Regions from separate parts of the Homo sapiens genome. Here regions 1 and 2 are each linked to region 3. The links are contacts of gene promoters, found by promoter capture Hi-C in human tissues and cell types (Jung and others, 2019). All regions are on one chromosome and are shown on one strand. The core of a region is centred on a gene start or on the middle of the fragment in contact, and the rest is flanking DNA. Distances in the headings are between cores, read along the strand shown.

The links. Contacts are between HindIII fragments. The study calls those that stand out against the background at their distance.
Region 1: a contact is called between a fragment that was not itself captured here and the fragment with the promoter of SIX4 in region 3, in 1 of the 25 tissues and cell types used here (IMR-90 fibroblasts).
Region 2: a fragment that was not itself captured here is called in contact with the fragment with the promoter of SIX4 in region 3 in 2 of the 25 tissues and cell types used here (adrenal gland and mesenchymal stem cells).

The regions. Positions count from the first base shown.
Region 1 is chr14:60,686,329-60,689,744 of GRCh38, forward strand. No RefSeq gene overlaps it. Among named protein-coding and RNA genes, the nearest start is that of SIX4, 36 kb to the right of the region's middle. The HindIII fragment of the contact is 4,287 bases long and covers 1-3,416 here.
Region 2 is chr14:60,785,710-60,789,069 of GRCh38, forward strand. All of the region lies in intron 1 of MNAT1 (MNAT1 component of CDK activating kinase), which reads left to right. Among named protein-coding and RNA genes, the nearest start is that of MNAT1, 53 kb to the left of the region's middle. The HindIII fragment of the contact is 3,656 bases long and covers 112-3,360 here.
Region 3 is chr14:60,722,892-60,726,182 of GRCh38, forward strand. SIX4 (SIX homeobox 4) reads right to left here and starts at 1,460. Exons shown (of 3, transcript NM_017420.5): 1 at 321-1,460. The coding sequence starts at 1,183. RefSeq lists a silencer at 873-942. The HindIII fragment of the contact is 7,845 bases long and covers 1-2,802 here.

The DNA.
Region 1 (3,416 bases), core at 475-2,974, 36 kb before region 3:
TACTTAACACTACTAAACTACAATTAAAAATGGTTACAGGTTGGGGACAGTGGCTCACGCCTGTAATCCCAGCACTTTGGGAGGCCAAGGCAGGTGGATCACCTGAGGTCAGGAGTTCGAGACCAGCCTGGCCAACATAGTGAAACCCTGTCTCTTCTAAAAATAAAAAAATTAGCCGGGTGTGGTGTTGCACGCCTGTAATCTCAGCTACTCGAGAGGCTAAGACAGGAGAATTGCTTGAACCCGGGAGGCGGAGGTTTCAGAGAGCTGAGATGTCACCACTACACTCCAGCCTGGACAACACAGCAAGACTCTGTCACACACACACAAAAAAAGTACAATAGTAAATTTGATGCTGTATGTATTTTACCGCAATTGAAAAATAAAAAGAATGGATGAATCTCATCTTCAGCTTTTCATAATTCTATGTAATTTTATCCTATATCTAGTATAATAGTGATTACTTCTGTTGTACTTAGAAATAAATATGTACTTAGAAATAAATATTAGAAATATTTATTGTTGTACTTAGAAATAAATATTCCATTATGAGTTGGTCCTTAGTCTCATAATTTTACAGAAAGTAACAAATTGTCTTAAGAAAGTAGAGCACATTGTATAATCTTTTTCCACAAAACATTGAAATAATGAGTCATTAACAAAGGTGTCTAGTGATGTATACAGAAAGTTACTAAAATACACAATAGAATTAGCAAATCAAACAGTGAAAGGCAAACTCAGACATGACTCCTTGCCCATCAGGACAGGCCAAAGCAAACAAGGGTATTTTGCATTGTGCTGTGAAGGTCAATAAACACAGACTTGGCTAGTTCAGGAGAGGCAGAAAAATGTAGAAACCAGGGCCTTTGGAATTAAGCCTCACCCCAAAATTCAAACCATAGGGTAGAACTCAGATGCAAACAATGTTTCTGTTGACTGGAAGATGACTTGGGAAAAAAACCACAACTAATCAGGTTCTGGGTGTCAGAAAACGATTTTACCAGGCCATTTAGGGGTGAGCAAGTTTGATTCCAAGTTCTAATCAAAAGGTGAATATCATTGTCTTCCCAACTGACTAGAAAGTCTGTAAGAAAGTGTTTCAGGGACACTACTGAGCCCCAGGGCAAGAAGGAGAAAGAAGGAAGTGGTGTTCTTTTTTTTACTTTAAAATTTTCTTCCTGATTATCTGCATAAAACATATTCATTGAAAAGTGCAATACACATCGTTATTCTGAGGGCCTAATAGCTCTCCTCTTTTCTAGATACATGGCACTCTTCATTCCCTTGCACTAGCCATCTGGTCAGTGAATATTGCTGTCTCCTTTCACAAATCTGTCTTCCTGGCCACAGTGATTGTTCTAAGAGTAGACACATGATCCAAGTTGGCCCCTAATACTCTCTCATTACCACCACCTGAGCCACTGTGATTGGGTAATGGTTGGACACGAGATCTAACATGGGCCAGTGAGAACTTTTCATTGTGATTGTTCTAGATGCACCTCCCCAACCCCACTCAAACAATGGAGAGACAGTCTTTTATTTTCCTTGGCAAAACTAGAAAATGTGAATCCAGGAGCTACTGGCAACAGGGTTCTAAGGCTTGTGGAGAAGGCAGAGCTACCCTAGGAGACATTGACCCCAAGGTACAGAGAGGAGCAGAAACTGGATTCTAAAGAACTGGAGAGACCCTGGTTGCAGTCAGTTTTAGCAAATGGTTTCATGAGCCAATAAATATTAGTGCCCTGACTGACTCTGTGAACCAATAAATATCCTTCTTACTAAGCTAGTTTGATTTAGGTTTCAGACGCTTACACCCAGAAGAGCCCTAACTGATATCATCAAACAGAAAAGTATTAAGAAACAGAATACTCATCCATAGTGGTATTCTCTAGTGGCAACAGCTGATAATGAGGCAGGAAAATAGGGTCTGGAGGAAGGGAACCTAAGGCCATTTCACACTGACTTCCTAGAACTAAACTGAAAGGAAATCCCTAACTTTCCACACCTAAGTAACAAAAGGACCACAGGCTACTCCCTTTGTAAACCCCCATCTTTTCTGCAACGCAGATGGGAAATTGAAAATACCTCTGCAAGAAGCAACCAATGAGGCATTTGCCTAGGAGTGTAACTTTATAATTTCACTTCAGCCTCTGATTAGTTGCTGTCTGCAGCCAATCAGACCGATTGCGAGCCAAGTTTTCATTTGCATAGAAGTGAAAAATTTGTAACATCACTTTAGCCTCTGATTGGTTGCTTTCCACAATCAGTCAGATGTTTGCATGGGAGTCTGACCTTTGCAACTTCATTTCAGCTGCTGATTGGTTGCTTTCCACAACCAATAAGCGAGCAACCACTGGGAAACCTCTAGCCGTTGTTTGGACCGGAGAAGATTCTGTATCTGGAGCCCTTGGGCCGCTGCTCTGGCCGCTCCCACGCTGTGGAGCGTACTTTCATTTGCAATAAATCTCTGCATTTGTTCTTTCGCTGCATCATTCTTTCCTTGCTCTGCTGTACATTTTGTCCAATTCTTTGTTCAAAACGCCAAGAACCTGGACAACATGCAGTCAAGACCCTCCACCAGTAACAGTAACATTCTGGTATGTGTACTTGTGGACTTTTAACTAAGCTTTTTTTTTTCCATTTATTTTCTCATCAAATTGAAGGTATAATATATACCCTTTTGGGGTCCTTTTATTTCTCTGTCACGTTGTATCATTTTCTAGTATCACTGAAAATGTTATAAAATAATTATAATTTTTTGGCCAGGCGCAGTGGGTCACGCCTGTAATCCCAGGACTTTGGGAGTCCGAGGTGGGCGGATCACGAGGTCAGGAGTTCGAGACCAGCCTGACCAACACGGTAAAACCCTGTCTCTAATAAAAATACAAAAATTAGCTGGGTGTGGTGGTGCACATCTGTAATCCCAGCTACTCAGGAAGCTAAGGCAGGAGAATCGCTTGAACCCGGGAGGCGAAAGTAGTGAGCCAAGATCGTGCCACTGCACTCCAGCCTGGGCGACAGAGCAAGACTCCCTCTCAAAAAAAAAAAATTATAATTTTTACAATTGTTTACATAATATTGGACTTTAGGTTATTTTCAAGTTTTTGATGCATATTGGGAATGAATTTTTGTCTCTCAAATTATCGTGGGAAATATATTGCTAGGAAGAAAATTACTGAGGCAAAGATTATGAATAGTGCCTTTGAAAGTTTTACACTTTTGTCATAAAAGCGATATATGATAAAAATAATTAAACAATTTAAAAGGATATAAAAGTGAAGGTCATCTTTCCATCTCTGACCTTCAGTCTTATTTCTTCTCCCTAGACTATAGGTATGTGTGTGTGTACATATTCCCCTGGAACTTTTTTTTTTTTTTAGTTGGAGTCTTGCTGTGTCACCCAGGCTGGAGTGCAA
Region 2 (3,360 bases), core at 690-3,189, 63 kb after region 3:
CAACTGTTTTTAATTGATTCACAAGAATGTATATTCTTGTACTCATCAAACATTTGAGGGTTCAGCTTTGCATTTGACAAGGCACCTGGCATAGTACTGAGAGGATAGCCAACTGTTTAGCTTAAATATTTGAGGACCTAATGAATAGAAATAGCATCTTGACTAGTTGTTATATTTTATTCTATTTAAAAGGTCATAATAATGGATGCTTGATAAATATTGACCTAGAAGAAATAGTTTAAAAAATGAATTATATATATTTTTTCATGGCCTCTTAAAAATAGTAGAAAAGTACAAACTGTTGTGGATATGAAGAGTGAAATAATGAAAATAAACCCAGTGTTAAACTCTAAGAAATAGAAACAAAATATAATTAAGAAAAATTGAATAAAATAAATAATAGAAAAGTAGAAATTAGTAAATTGGAAAACACACAAAAAATTGTGAAATTCAAGTTTCTTTATAGTGATTCTTTAAAAGGGCCTTTATACAACTTAGACAAACATGTAGCATTTCTAATCAAGAGAAAGAGGTAGAAAAACAAAATAAGAAGTGAAGAGAGAGCTAGAACAATAGTAACAGTGGAAAATTTAAAAAATATTTTAGTACTAATAAATGAGAAAATCTTAATGGCTTGGGTAGTTTGGGGAACACTTAAATTATGATTGCATTCCTTTGAGTTCATTTGTTCATTATAAGCAATCTTTTATTGGTCACATGTAACAGTGGTTCTCAGACTTTTTGGTGTTAGTAACTTTTATAATTTTAAAAGTTATTGATGACCCTCAAGACCTCTTATTTATGAAAGTTATATCTGTTAACATTTATCATATTAGGAATTAAAATTTGGAAACTTTGAAATGTTCATTTATTCATCAAAAATTATAAACCTATTACATGTTACCACAATGTATTTTTATGAAACATAACTATATTTTCCAAAACAAAAAAATTTTGTGAGATGAGTAGCATTGTTTTACATTTTTGCAAATCTTTTAAAAATGCTTGGCTTAAGAGAAGAAAACTAGATTCTCACATCTGCTTCTGTGTTGAGTCTGTTGTATGTTTTGGTTGAAATAAATGAAGACTATCTGGCATCTATAGATACCTATTTGGAAAAGGGATAAGCATTTTAATAATAGCCTTTTCAGGTAATTGCTGACATTGTTTTTGGACATACTTAGTTACATGTATTTTTAACTCCTTTGAATCATGGTGGAAGTAAAGACATACCTTATTTAGTGCAGTGGCATTAATGGAAATCAGAGTATTAGTTGAATTTGCCCTTCCTTTCCCCGAAGTAGAATTATAGTAAAGGTCTGTATGCAAATGCTAGCTTGGTTTAGTGGGACATCGTTCTTTCAAGTCTCCAAAGTCCTGAATGCTCCTGTGGCCATGGTGCTTTCCCTTATTACTCGTATGCAGACATACCTCAGACATATTGCTGGTTTGGTTTCTGACCACCACAGTAAAGCAAATATCATAATACAACAAATAGCACAATAAAGTGACTAGCACAATAAAGTGTGTCACACAAACTTTTTGATTTCTTAGTGTGTATGAAAGTTATGTTTACACTATACTGTAGTATATTAAGTGTACAATATCAATATGACTAAAAAACAGTGTGCATACCTTAATTAAAATATACTTTACTGCTAAAAATTGCTAACAATCATCTGAGCCTTCGAAAGTGACTATAATCTTTGTGCTAGTAGAAGGTCTTGCCCAGATGTTGATGGCTCCTGACTGATCAGGATGGTGATTGCTGAAGGTTGGGGTGGCCTTGGTGATTTCTTAAAATGAGACAACAATGAAGTTCGTTGCATTTATTGACTCTTCCTTTCATGAAAGATTTCCCTGGAGCATGTGATGCTGTTTGATAACATTTACTTACTGGAAAATTCCTCGCAAAATTGGAATCAATTCTCAAACCTTGCCACAGCTTTATCAACTAACTGTATATGTTATTTCTGAATCTCTTGTCATTTCAACAGTGTTCACAGCATCTTCACCAGGAGTAGATTCCATATCAAGAATCATCCCTAAGAAGCCCAAACTCCTCATTTGTTCAAGTTTGATCATGAGATTGCAGCAATTCAGTCACATCTTCAGGCTCCACTTCTAATTCTAGTTCTCTCGCTGTTTCTGCCATATCTGCAGTTATTTTCTCCACTGAAGTCAGACCCTGAAAGTCATCTGTGAGGATTGGAATCAACTTCTTCCAAATGCCTTTTAATGTTAATATTTTTTATCTTTTCACATGAATCACACATGTTCTTAATGGCATCTAGAATGGTGAATCCTTTCAAAAAGGTTTTGAATTTGCTTTGCCCAGATCTATCAGAGGAATCATTGTCTGTAGCAGCTACAGCATTATGACATGTATTACTTAAATAACAAGACTTCAATGTCAGAATTACTCCTTGACCCATGGGCTTTTGAATGGATGTTGTGTTAGCAGGCATGAAAACAACATTCATGTCCTTGCACATATCCATCAGAGGTCTTAGGTGACCAGATTCATTGTCAATGGGCAGTAACATTTTGGAAGGAATCTTTTTTTCCGAGCAATAGGTCTCAACAGTGGGTTCAAATATTAAGCAAACCATGCTGTAAATAGATGCGCCATCATTCAGGCTTTATTCTTCCATTTATAGAGCACAGGCAGTATAGATTTAGCATAATATTTAAGGGCTTTATGATTTTTCAAAATGACAAATGAACATTGGTTTCAATTTAGTCATCAGCTGCACTATCTCCTGAAAAGACACCCTTGCCTTTGAAGCTTTGAAACCAGGCATTGGCTTCTCCTCTGTAGCTATGGAAGTCCTAGACGGCATCTTCCAATAGAAGGATGTTTCATCTGCATTGAAAAGTCTGTTTTTCAGTGTAGCCACCTTCATCATTATCTTAGATAGATATTATGGATAACTTGCTGAAGCCTCCATATCAGCACTTGCTGCTTCACCTTGCACTTTTATGTTATGGAAACAGCATCTTTCCTTGAATTTCATGAACCAACCTCTGCTAGCTTCAGACTTTTCTTCTGCAACTTCCTCACCTTTCTCAACCTTTATAGGATTGAAGAGAGTTAGGTATTAGGATCTGGATTAGGTTTTGGTTTAAGGGAATGTTGTGGCTGGTTTGATCTTTTATCCAGACCACTGAAACTTTCTCTGTATAAATGATAAGACTGTTTTGCTTTCTTAACATTGTGTGTCATTGGCGCAGTGCTTTTAATTTCCTTCGAGGACTTTTCCTTTGCATTCATGACTTGGCTAACTGGTGCAGTTGGCCTAGCTTTTGGGCTATCTCAGCTTATGATACACCCTCCTCAGGAAGCTTGGTCATTTCTGT
Region 3 (3,291 bases), core at 210-2,709:
CTTCAAAGCCAGCGGGATGGGGGTGGGAAGCTGGGCAGCAGTGACCAGCCGAGGTGGGGGCGGGGACTGAGACCTAGGCGGGCGACCAGAAACTTCTGGGGGGAGAGGGGGAGGGTAAGGAGGGAGGTTCCCCCGCCCCCCGCCTCCGCCGCCCCCTACCTCTGCCGGCCGGGGAGCGAGGTAGGGGGCGGGGAGAGGTGGGCAGCCGGACCAGGCTGGTGGGGAAGGTAAGCGCCATGTTTGCGAGCACTTGGAGGAAAAGAAAGCCGGGAAGGGGGTGGGGGAGAGGAAGGGGGAGGAGGAGGAAAGTTGGCGCTCACCTTTTGGACTGGGTCTCGGAGGGGTTCCTGTCGCGCTGCCGGCGGTTCTTGAACCAGTTGCTGACCTGGGTGAGGGAGAGGCCGGTGATCTTGGCCAGGTGCCGCTTCTCGGCGGGCGAAGGGTAGCGATTCTGCTTGTAGAGCTCCTTGAGCGCGTTGCGCGACTTCTCCTTGAAACAATACACCGTCTCCTCGCCGTCCCAGATGGTGCGGGGCAGGGGGAATTTCCTGCGCAGCCGGTACTTGTCTACGGCTCCCAGCGGCCGGCCGCGGGCTCGCTCGGCCTCGGTGTAGCGCGCCTTGTACCAGAGCTGCTGCAGCAGCGGGTGGTTGGCCGACTCGAAGCTGTGGCTCTCGAGGATGCTGTAGAGCTCGGGGTAGATGCCCTGGTGGAAGGCCACGAGCGCCCGCGCCTTCAGCAGGCTCTCGTTGCCACGTAGCAGGTCGCTCTGGGGCAGGGACCACAGGAACCGGGCCAGGCGGTCCAGGTTGCCCCCCTGCTGCAGTGCCTCGCACACGCAGGCGACGTGGTCGGGCGAGAAGGCCAGCGGGGTCTGCGCGGCGGCGGCGGCGGCGTGGTGGTGCCTGCCCAGAAGTTCCGAGTGGAGTTGTACCTGATCCGCCGCCGCTCCGGCCGCCGCCGCCGCCACTGCCCCTTCCTCTCCGCTCACCCTGGCGGCAGCGGTCGCGGCGTCCCCCGGCTCCAGGGGAAAAGGGGCTGGAGCCGGGGGGCTCAGCCCTACCGCCGCGCCCCCCGCCACTTCTCGGTGCGCCTCCTGCCCTTCCGAGGCGCTTTCCATCCCATTCTCTTGCTTGATGTCCGCCGCACTTGCGATCTGCCCGGTGGGGGAGGAAGAGGACATTTTTTGTTGTTTATTTTCCTCCCTCCCTCACTCCCTCGCACTCTTTTCCTCTTTCTTTCCTCCTCTCTTACTCCTCCTCCTTCGTCTCCCTCCCTCCTCTCCCCCTCCGGAAAGCCCACTCCCTCCCTCCTGGTTTCGGCTGTATCTGGCCGATCAGGTTTCCCCCCGGCCACGCAGTCACCATTAAGATAGCTGTTAGAGCAAAGTAGTGTAAACGGATAGCTGCTTTCTGCCGTTCCCCCAACGTGACTCCTCCGGTTGCTGCATACTATATGGCAGTGGCGGCCGGGCCGGCCCGGCCTAGCCACCTCATTGGCTATTTCGCATTCAGAGGGAGGAGGAGACACAGTTTCTATCCCTGTCGATCACCCGCCTCCCACTCCACCCCTCGCCTTTCCCTCCCCTCCTGACCCCCAGGCACCTATACCTGAAGGAAAACACCGACATTCTTTCCAAGCCACGCTCCTGGGCGGGAAATTACCTAATGTGGCCTGAAAACTGGACAACTCTTTCAAACAGAGGCCCTACAATTCCAGAGGGAATATTAATTGTGTGGCCTTAAGGTCTGGATGGTTAAATTTTTAACAAAGAGACCACCCTCAGCATCTAGATGACAAAACTTCAGAGGACAATTCAGAAGCCCCCCAGTATGTCCCTGTTCCCCATTCTCCCTCTTTTTGGATGTCTTTATCAAGGATTTTGTATTCAAAACGGTCAAAAATAAAATGACACTAGGAAATGTTCTAAGGGGCAAGCATTTACAGTAAATTAAAATTCCAAAGAGGGAAAAATGCTTGAAAACCTTATAATTAGCAGCATAAATAGCACACTGAGAAGACAAAAACAAGAAGCCTTCAAAAAATGTACTTAACCTTAAGCCACGTGGAGGGCTGGCAACCCAACTGAGTTGAACATGGTATAATTAAACATGTAGAATATTAAACCATAAGTTTATCCTGGATGAGTCGTGTGGAAGAGATCTAAGCTTTAAATATGGAAATTTAAGTTTTCTACATGAACTTTTTAATGTAAGTATATGAGTATTTCTTTTTTAACGATGATAGGCTAGAAACACTGAATGTGCGGGTGTCATCCAGATCAGTGCAGGATCAGAAGCCCTTTTCCACAGCATAGACAGATTGCCCTCTGGTTTGATGCTGAAGTGGGGGTAGAGTCTTTTGTTGTTTGCAGTTGTGTCTCTTTCCTTTGTAATTTGCACAAGATCTTAATTCCAAAAGGGATGATCCATTTCTGCTTCTTTGATTACTGTAGGTCAGTTGGGTTTGCCTGCTGCTGCTCTTTCTCAAAATTCAACTTTTTTTCCCCCCGAGATGGAGTCTCGCTCTGTCGCCCAGGCTGGAGTGCAGTGGTGTGATCTCGGCTCACTGCAAGCTCCGCCTCCTGGGTTCACGCCATTCTCCTGCCTCAGCCTCCCGAGTAGCTGGGACTACAGGCGCCCGCCACCACGCCCAGCTAATTTTTTTTTTTTTTTTTTTTTTGTATTTTTTAGTAGAGACGGGGTTTCACCACGTTAGCCAGGATGGTCTCGATCTCCTGACCTCGTGATCCGTCCGCCTCGGCCTCTCAAAATTCAACATTTTAATGACATCATCCTAACCTTTGCTTCAGGGTGGCCTTGTATTGTGTATGCTTCCCAGCTACTCATAGCTGCCTACTTCAGCATATTACAAAGCAGCTGTCTAGGTCACCTGCCGTCATGATAAACTTGGTGAGATTTTCTTTTTTTTTGTAGACAGGCTTTATTTTATTGCTGGTCAATCAAGATGTCATTTGATGTAGGATTTAACTTGTTTTTGCATTACCCTAATGTGTTGACATCGCTGGTAGATTTAAAATTTATAACAACAGAAAAGGCCATATTATTTATTTGCTTATTTATTTATTTATTTATTTATTTATTTTTTGAGATGGAGTCTCACTCTGTTGCCCGGGCTGGAGTGCAGTGGCGTGATCTTGGCTCACTGCAACCTCTGCCTCCCGGGTTCAAGCGATTCTCCTGCCTCAGTCTCCTGAGTAGCTGGCACTACAGGCGCGTGCCACCATGCCCGACTAATTTTTTATATTTTTAGTAGAGATGGGGTTTCATC